Regions from separate parts of the Homo sapiens genome. Here region 1 is linked to region 2. The links are contacts of gene promoters, found by promoter capture Hi-C in human tissues and cell types (Jung and others, 2019). All regions are on one chromosome and are shown on one strand. The core of a region is centred on a gene start or on the middle of the fragment in contact, and the rest is flanking DNA. Distances in the headings are between cores, read along the strand shown. Region 1 overlaps STK4 (serine/threonine kinase 4). Region 2 holds the start of WFDC3 (WAP four-disulfide core domain 3).

Region 1 (3,987 bases), core at 684-3,183, 820 kb after region 2:
CCATAGTTTTTAAGGTTTCCTTTGTCCTTAACAGTCTACTATTCTACTGTAATGTAACTAGGAGTTGATCTGGCACTTCATAAACTTCTTCAATCTGAGGGCTCGTGTCTTTCCTCAAGAATGAAAAACTCTCAGGATTATTATGTGATTATTTCCTCTACCACTTCTAGGATCTTCTTTTAGAATTCCTACCAAAACTGTATTAGACCTCCTCAATCTATGTTGTCTTCCTGGTTTCCAACACTGTATTTCTGCATGTTGTGATCAGTCTCATTTCTATCTTTCAATTCACAAATTCTCCTTTCAGTTTGTCTAGTTTACTGTTTATCCAATTTATTGGGCTTTTAAAACTTCAATTGTTGTAGTTTTCATTGTCAAGATTCCCAACTTTTTATCTGCCTTTGGGCAAATATGTTAATAATCATGTCAATAATCTGATGTCCTTTTAAAAATGTTATCTCCTCCTTGATCTTTTTGAAAATTGTAATTATATTAAATTGTTTTTGAGATTGCTTCATTATTTCTTTTTCCTTCAGTGTGAATTCTCCCATTCTGCTGATTATCTCATGGCAGTAGATTTCCTTGCATGGATTTCATTTTCTCTTGAATGATTTTCCTCTATACCACACTCACTGTCGATGATTTCATGGTTTTCTCAGTACAGTAGTCTGGGATATACAACTTAAACCAGGTCTTATATTCAGAGTTTGGGGTTTTTGCCCTTCAAGATACCATACTTAAATACAATCCAAGCTCAGTTCCTATTATCGAACCAGTATATCCATTTTTTCCCTAGGCCACAGGCAAATGACACTTTCTGGTTGTGGTCAGGCAAATTTATTTCAGCTTTAGTTCACAGATGGAGAGCCGAGTTCCAGCCCCCAACTTCATGCAGGAAGCTCAAATGCAATCTCCTGACAAGGATAAGGCATGCTTTAGTCTCCGCTGATTATTTAGATTTCTTTCCTATCCCTTGTCCATAGCTGTCTATATATCCTTATATTTAAAATAATTTTCACTCATTATTCTTATATATTAGAAAGTTCTCTTCATACACTCACTCAGCAATCTTGACCAGAACACTCTTCATACCTCCCTATGCATCCTGATAGCAAGGAAAACTCCAATAGCTCACATGAAGTTAAGATTCCTGATTCCATATACTGCATCTACAGTAATCTGAAGGCAGGGATAGGGGGTGGTTAGAAGATTTCAGCAATCATACTCACAAGCAAGTCCCTTAAAACTTGATTCCCTACAACAAAATGAGATGATTCAATGAATTACAACTGACAGCAGAGAATGGAGAAGTAGGTGTTTTACATAAGCCATGCAAGGCAAGGATCTATGTAGAAAAATGGAAATACCACAGTATCTGAGGCCAAATTAATCAGATACAAGTCTTAACAATAGCACTCATTTTTTATGAAACCATGGGCAAGATGCTTTTGTTATCATTCTATGATAAAAATTCAAATGAGTCAATGTGTACAACTTTAAGTAGAAGAAAAAAGGTGCTAGGCTCCACTTGAAAACACTTCCCAAGTGCTCTCCACTCATCCTGGTCTGGAGCTTTGGCTCTACTCTGCCACAGATCCATATGATCCTCATAACACAGAATGATTGCAGCCTCCAGAATCCAACAGTTTTTTTAGCCATAGCTCATTTCACAAGATACAAGTCAGTGAGAGTTCACAAACCATTCATCCTCCCGAACAATTTAAGAATAGCATTGGCCAGGCGTGGTGGCTCACATCTGTAATTCCAGCAATTTGGGAGGCTGAGGCAGGCAGATCACAAGATCACGAGATCAAGACCATCCTGGCCAATATGGTGAAACCCCATCTCTACTAAAATACAAAAAATAAGTCGGGCGTGGTGGTGTGTGCCTATAGTCCCAGCTACTCAGGAGGCTGAGGCAGGGGAATCGCTTGAACCTGGGAGGCGGAGGTTGCAGTGAGCCGAGATTGTGACATTGCACTCCAGCCTGGTGACAGAGCAAGACTTAATCTCAAAAAAAAAGAATAGCATTGTGTCACATGTTTGGAAAAGAAGTGCAGTGAAGGTCTTCCTTCAAAATATTCCTAGTTAAATGAGGCTTGCTTAGGTTCATTCAGTCAGAATAACAGAAATCCAAGAAATACCAGAAATCTGGTATTATTTAGAAGAACAATAAGGTGATAGTATGGGAAGAAAGATCTGAAGCTTTGTTTTCTCCCTGGTGATATCTTCATAGGGAAATTTCCACATTCCTTGCAGAAGACATCCATAGATCTAAAACGCAATTTGTCCAGGTGCAGTGGTTCACGTCTCTAATCCTAGCACTTTGGGAGGCTGAGGCAGGAGGATCACTTAAGGCCAAGAGTTCAAGACCAGCCTGGGCAACACAGTGAGACCTCGTCTCTACAAAAATAAATAAACAAACAAATAAATAAAATACAATTTAAAAAATCATAATTAGCTTATTTTTTGTTTACATTATATTTCTGATATATTCTCTGTCTATAGTCTTCCTTTGACATTCCACAAACCCAATCAGCTCAGAGCTACCTATAACAACACCTAAAAATACTTTAAGACTTGACATGATGAGGTCTTGAAAATGCTTCAGTTGATACATTTAAAATAGAATAGCAATAGTTGCCACTTACTGAACATTTATTATTGTGATAAGCACTATACTTTACCCCAATTACCTCAGGTAATAACACAACTCTATGAATTGATATATTATTATCCCAACTTTACAGATGAGGATTGTGAGCCTCCAAAATAGTAAGCAATTTGCTTAAGCCCACTTGTCTATTATGACCAGTAAACAGTAGAGCAAGGATTTTAACCCAGGTCAGCCTCACATTGTAGTAGTAAGAGCAAACTGTATTAGAAATGAGAGAAATAAGTTACATAGTCAATTATGCCTATCAGTCTTGAACTTATTCTAAGTATAACTTATGAGCATTGTTAGATTAAAGGTCACAGCCTTGCTGCCTTAGGGAAAATAGCAAGGATGGCAAGCTAAAGCTGAAAATGGCAGGCAACAGATGTAGAGGGACTGTCATTTCCCCATACCTTTAATGATGCCAGTCAACTGGCAGTCTTCAGATTCATCTTGGACTTGTCTTTTCACAGCACAGCTGGTGTGTCATTTTTACTTCCCTTCTCTGCTTGATTTCTTGCTGGATTCCAAAGAGTATTTTTCCAACTTACAAAAAGACGATGACTCATGTTTTTTACAAGGAGGTAAATCATAAAAAAACCATTTCATGTAATCCAGGATTGGGTTTAACGTTGTAAATCTGTCTCCTAACATAAAAAATACTAAACCCAAAAAATAATCTAATGACATAAAGGAAATTATTTTAAAGAGCATATAGTCATCAGTCAGTAGTTGTTTTTACAAGTTAGTATGTCAGGTCTTCCCTTGATCCAGAAATACTCCCAAGGGATTAAAAATACAGACACACACACACACAAACACGAGTGTGCGCTCGCACACACATAGCCTGTCTCTGAAAGACACACAAGAAGCCGCTACCCTTGGTGATTCTGGGTGGCTAAGAGACAGAGAGAGGTAGGAGGCAGTTTTTTTTTTTTTTTATTGTATGCGTCTTAATATTTTTTTAAATTTTGAATCATATGATTGTATCGCCTATTCAAAAATTAACAAGAAAAACTTAAGAAATGGTGTCATTAACATTTTAATTTCCTGGTCATTACAGAAGAAGGAATAAATACACAGGATTGAATTAAAATGATATATAAAAGTATAAAAATTATGTAAACTTAATTGTATCATGAAAGTCAATGATGGTCACTGCACATTACTAATATCATTTCATCAGTATTTTATAAACGCATTAACAAATCTGTGTTTCAGGAAATCCACTGGCTCCCAACCCAGGATTGTGGATCTCCTAAGTAGCTGTGAAGGTGGTGATAGTGCTTAATTTATTTACTATATTTCACAAAGGTGCAAATATTAAAATA
Region 2 (4,388 bases), core at 224-2,723:
CCCGACCTCAGGTGATCCACCCACCTCAGCCTCCCAAAGTGCTGGGATTACAGGCGTGAGCCACCGCGCCCGGCCCAAAGTGTTTTTATGAAATATAATACTTATACAGAAAAGTCTATACACTTTAATGAGTAATTATAGTGAACATCCATTTCACCACTATCAGCATCCCAAAGGCCCACCTTGTGCTCTCTCCCTTCCCTGACATGCATACTATTAATCCCTCTTTATAGTTGAGAAAACGGGCTCATCAGAGTCTGTTGATGAGAACACAGTTGTCTGACTCCAGAGCCTGTTCTCTTAAACTCCATGCTAACTGACCTCTTTAGAGCCCTCAACCACAGAGCCAGTGAATGTGAGGGATCTTAGGTATTGTTTATTCCACAACCCATCTCCTGTGCCCTTCCCCATTTTGTACGTGAGTTCAGAGAAGGAAGTGACTTGACTAGTTCAAGATCACACAGAGTTACAGAATCGGAGTCTCCTCTTCCTCAGTCCTGTGCTCTTTCTACCGGCTGTAGATCTCCATAGCCTTGTGCACTGGGGATCCCAAATCTGCCATGCAAGCCAGTGGCTGGGATATAAGCCCCATGCAGGGCCAGCCTTACCTTGTTGTCATCTGTGAGCGGCGGCCCCTCCGCTGCACCTGCCGGTGCTTTATCATTATGTTCCAAGGGTTCTGTGGGGACCAACGGAACAAATGTCACTGCGGCCTGTGACACTGGGGTGGGGTGGAGGTGGAGGGTGGGTATGAAGTTAAACCTGGACATCCCTGCTTCTCAGATCCGTCACCATCTCTCCCGCCTTGGGGTGGGACGATAGTTGTAAGGCCTCCTCCACAAAAGAGGAACTGAGGAAGTTTCCTGCCTTAAAAGTCCCGACCCTGCCTTCTGGCACGGCAGGAGGAAGGGAAGCAGTATTTACCGAGGGTCAACTCTGTGTCAGGTGATGTCCGGGGCGTTGTACCCGCCTTTATCTTCCCATCCCACAACAAGTTTTATGAGACAGGTACTAATCATTTCCATTTTATAGAAGAGGATCCTGGGACTCAGGGGGTTGACAGAGATGGCCCACGTCACCTAGCTAGGAGGGCGGCACCAGAATTTAAATCCAGGTCGTCGGGCTGCGAAAACGCCAACCCCCTCTGCAGCTCCAGCCTCCGCGTTCTCTCGCCCGCGGGCCAGGGTCCCAGGAGCCCCGAGGCCGTGCCCGGCCTGAGCCCAGACCTCACCGGGGGCGCCCTCACCGTAAGAACCAGCTGCCCCGCTGCGCCCGCATCCCCCAGCTCCAAGCCGCCCCTCTCGGCCCCGCTAGGTCCCCGCGGCTGCTCGGCGTCGCCAGTGGCTCCCATGGCGCCCCCGGCCCCCACAACTCCGCTGGACTCTGTCACCGGCCGGAAAGTGGCGCCGTGACGTCACTGGAGCGCGCTGCTCGTCCGCCCGGAAGCGCGACGCTGGAGCTGCGGGGTTACCATGGGAACCGAACCGCCGCGCCTCGCCCAGGACAGTTACACTTAGAGGCCTTGTAGGTGGAGGTCGTTGGGGCTTCCTCTCGGGAGGGCTGCGCCTCGATTGTGCAGTGTGGGTGTTCAGTGGCGGTTCAGTCAAGGGATGTTTCCCGCTGGGCCAAGGCCTGGGGATGACTGCGGGGTAGGAGGAAGGGACCAGTTTTCTGTAGGCTGGGGTTGGGGAGCAGAGGGAAGCGTTTGGTACAGCGGCGCCTGCAGTTCAGTTTTTGAAAACTAGATTTTAATATGCTCGGCCAGGGGCGGTGGCTCACGCCTGTAATCCCAGCACTTTGGGAGGCCGAGGCGGGAGGATCACTTGCCATCAGGAGTTCGAGACCAGCCTGGCCAACATGGCGAAACCCCGTCTCTACTAAAAATATAAAAATTAGCCGGGCGTGGTGGTGGGCACCTGTAATCCCAGCTACTCGGGAGGCTGAGGCAGGAGAGTCTCTTGAACCCAGGAGGCGGAGGTTGCAGTGAGCCGAGATCACGCCACTGCACTCCAGCCTGGGCGACAGAGGGAGACTGTCTCAAAAAAAAAAAAAAAAAAAGCACATTAGGCACATGTTAGGTCATCATCAAATGTTAATTATGCCGAGATCGCGCCACTGCATTCCAGCCTGGGGGACAGAGGGAGACTCTGTCTCAAAAAAAAAAAAAAAAAAAAAAAAAAAAGCATATTAGGCACATATGAGGTCATCATCAAATGTTAATTATCTCCATGAGCCAACATCAGCCTTCTAACCATAAGGGCGACTTCCTGGCTCCAAACTTTTTGATCCTATTAAGGAGGTTTTACCTTGTACCTGCCCATAGGACTAAGCAGTGCCAGTGGACACCATTAGGTATCACAGCTAACCAAAGGCATGACCAGGACAGATAAAGAAAAAAAGAAATGGAGAAAAAAGAAATAAAGGAGGTATATGTGGGCAGACTATTTGAGTCATACATAGCAACTTCTCTTGGGTTCTGCCAGCTAGACTTCATACAGTCCAAGAATGGCCTGTGTGGGTTAGAGGGACAAAGATGTAGGTGTTTGGTGCTTTTCATTAGTTCTTAACAAACTCAACTACTGCTTTTCTGTAGGTTTTTGATAGTTTCTTTTCTCTCTTTTTTTTTTTTTTGAGACAGAGTCTCACTCTGTTACCCAAGCTGGAGTGCAGTGGCATGATCTCCACTCACTGCAACCTCTGCCTCCTGGGTTCAAGCTATTCTCCTGCCTCAGCCTCCCACGTAGCTGGGATTACAGGCATGCACCAGCATGCCCAGCTGATTTTTGTATTTTTAGTAGAGACAGGGTTTCGCCATGTTGGCCAGGCTGGTCTCAAACTCCTGACCTCAGGTGATCTGCCCGCCTTGGCCTATTTGATAGTTTCTGAGTGGTCTGTTCCATTCTGTATTTTCTTGGTTGCTAGGATGAACAGGAGCCACAATTTTATTATGCTTGGTTATGTTATTAGCTTTGGCCATTAAGTAGTGTCGTGAATCCCTCCCTCTGTTATTTGGGCTAAAGCCATGTCCTTCCAATGCCCTTTAGGGCTCTCTTTGATTCTTTTTCCAATGGCCACCCCTCCATTTTTCCAGCCACCCACTAGGTTTCTCATCATCCAGGAATATTGTGTATATTGCTTACAGAATTTGATCCTCCCATCACAGGTCCCCTTTGGTAGTGCCAGGAATTTTCCCACACTCCAGCAGCCAATCCCTCTTCTTCTTGTCAGGAGAAGATATTCTTGGGGAGTATTGTGAAAGGGAAGGTTTTGGGACTGGGTTTGGGGCCATCCCTAGTCCTGCTCATACCTCAGCTGATACTCTGGGCAAGGTGTACACCTCTAGCCTGAACTGAGCTCTTGTCCCAACTCTCAGCATCATCATGATGTTAAGCTGCCTCTTTCTTCTGAAGGCACTTCTTGCTCTTGGGTCTCTGGAATCCTGGATAACTGCAGGAGAACATGGTGAGCTATCATTTGGGATCCCTGGCCAACAGTAACAGAAAGTGACTAGAGGAGAGGAGAACTCATCCCCTGCCTTCTCCCAGAGCAAGGTTGCTTGTAAGTGGAGATGATCATCTCTATAGGACAGGACTGGATGAATAGATTCTCAGGATGGCCTGGGTCATTCTTCCTGGCTTTCTTTACCCTCTCTGGACAAGGAGATAGGACTTCCAGTTGGGCTTACTAGAGGTTCTAGCTTTTCCCTAGAACTCATTAAATGAGAACAGGATCATCCCACCCTTTCTCTCTCGTTATCTGCAGGATGGCTGCTCCTTTAGCAGTGGTGGATATATGTTAGTATTTGTGTATGAGGAGGGGAAGGTGGTTGCAGAATTTTTTTTTTTTTTTTGAGATGGAGTCTCACTCTGTCACCCAGGCTGGAGTGCAGTGGCGTGATCTCAGCTCACTGCAAACTCCACCTCCCAGGTTCACGCCATTCTCCTGCCTCAGCCTCCCGAGTAGCTGGGACTACAGGTGCCCGCCGCCACGCCCAGCTAATTTTTTGTATTTTTAGTAGAGATGGGGTTTCACTGTGTTAGCCAGGATGATCTCGATCTCCTGACCTCATGATCCGCCCGCCTCGGCCTCCCAAAGTGCTGGGATTACAGGCATGAGCTATCGTGCCCAGCCAGAATTTTTTTTTTTTTTTAAGAGACAGGGTCTCATTCTGTCACCCAGGCTAGAGTGCAGTGGTGCAGAAATATTTTGGATAGAGATGCCTGGAGGGGCTGAAGGTCCATTCCCCATTTCTGAGGCCTGGCTAGTTACCCCAAACTCAAATAGTATCTTTTGCAGCAAAAGAGGGAGAATGCCCTCCCCATAAGAACCCATGCAAAGAGCTGTGCCAGGGTGATGAATTGTGTCCGGCTGAACAGAAGTGCTGCACC

The links. The method cuts DNA at HindIII sites, captures the fragments that hold promoters and counts their contacts. A contact is called where the count stands out against the background at its distance.
Region 1: a contact is called between a fragment that was not itself captured here and the fragment with the promoter of WFDC3 in region 2, in 1 of the 25 tissues and cell types used here (hippocampus).

The regions. Positions count from the first base shown.
Region 1 is chr20:44,972,516-44,976,502 of GRCh38, reverse strand. The region is part of intron 2 of STK4 (serine/threonine kinase 4); the gene reads right to left. Among named protein-coding and RNA genes, the nearest start is that of STK4, 8.0 kb to the right of the region's middle. The HindIII fragment of the contact is 3,126 bases long and covers 371-3,496 here.
Region 2 is chr20:45,788,968-45,793,355 of GRCh38, reverse strand. It overlaps WFDC3 (WAP four-disulfide core domain 3), which reads left to right and starts at 1,473. Exons shown (of 7, transcript NM_080614.2): 1 at 1,473-1,524; 2 at 3,374-3,462; 3 at 4,297-4,388. The coding sequence starts at 3,381. It overlaps DNTTIP1 (deoxynucleotidyltransferase terminal interacting protein 1), which reads right to left and starts at 1,402. Exons shown (of 13, transcript NM_052951.3): 1 at 1,247-1,402; 2 at 609-679. The coding sequence starts at 1,351. RefSeq lists silencers at 700-839, 1,050-1,319. The HindIII fragment of the contact is 18,270 bases long and covers 1-4,388 here.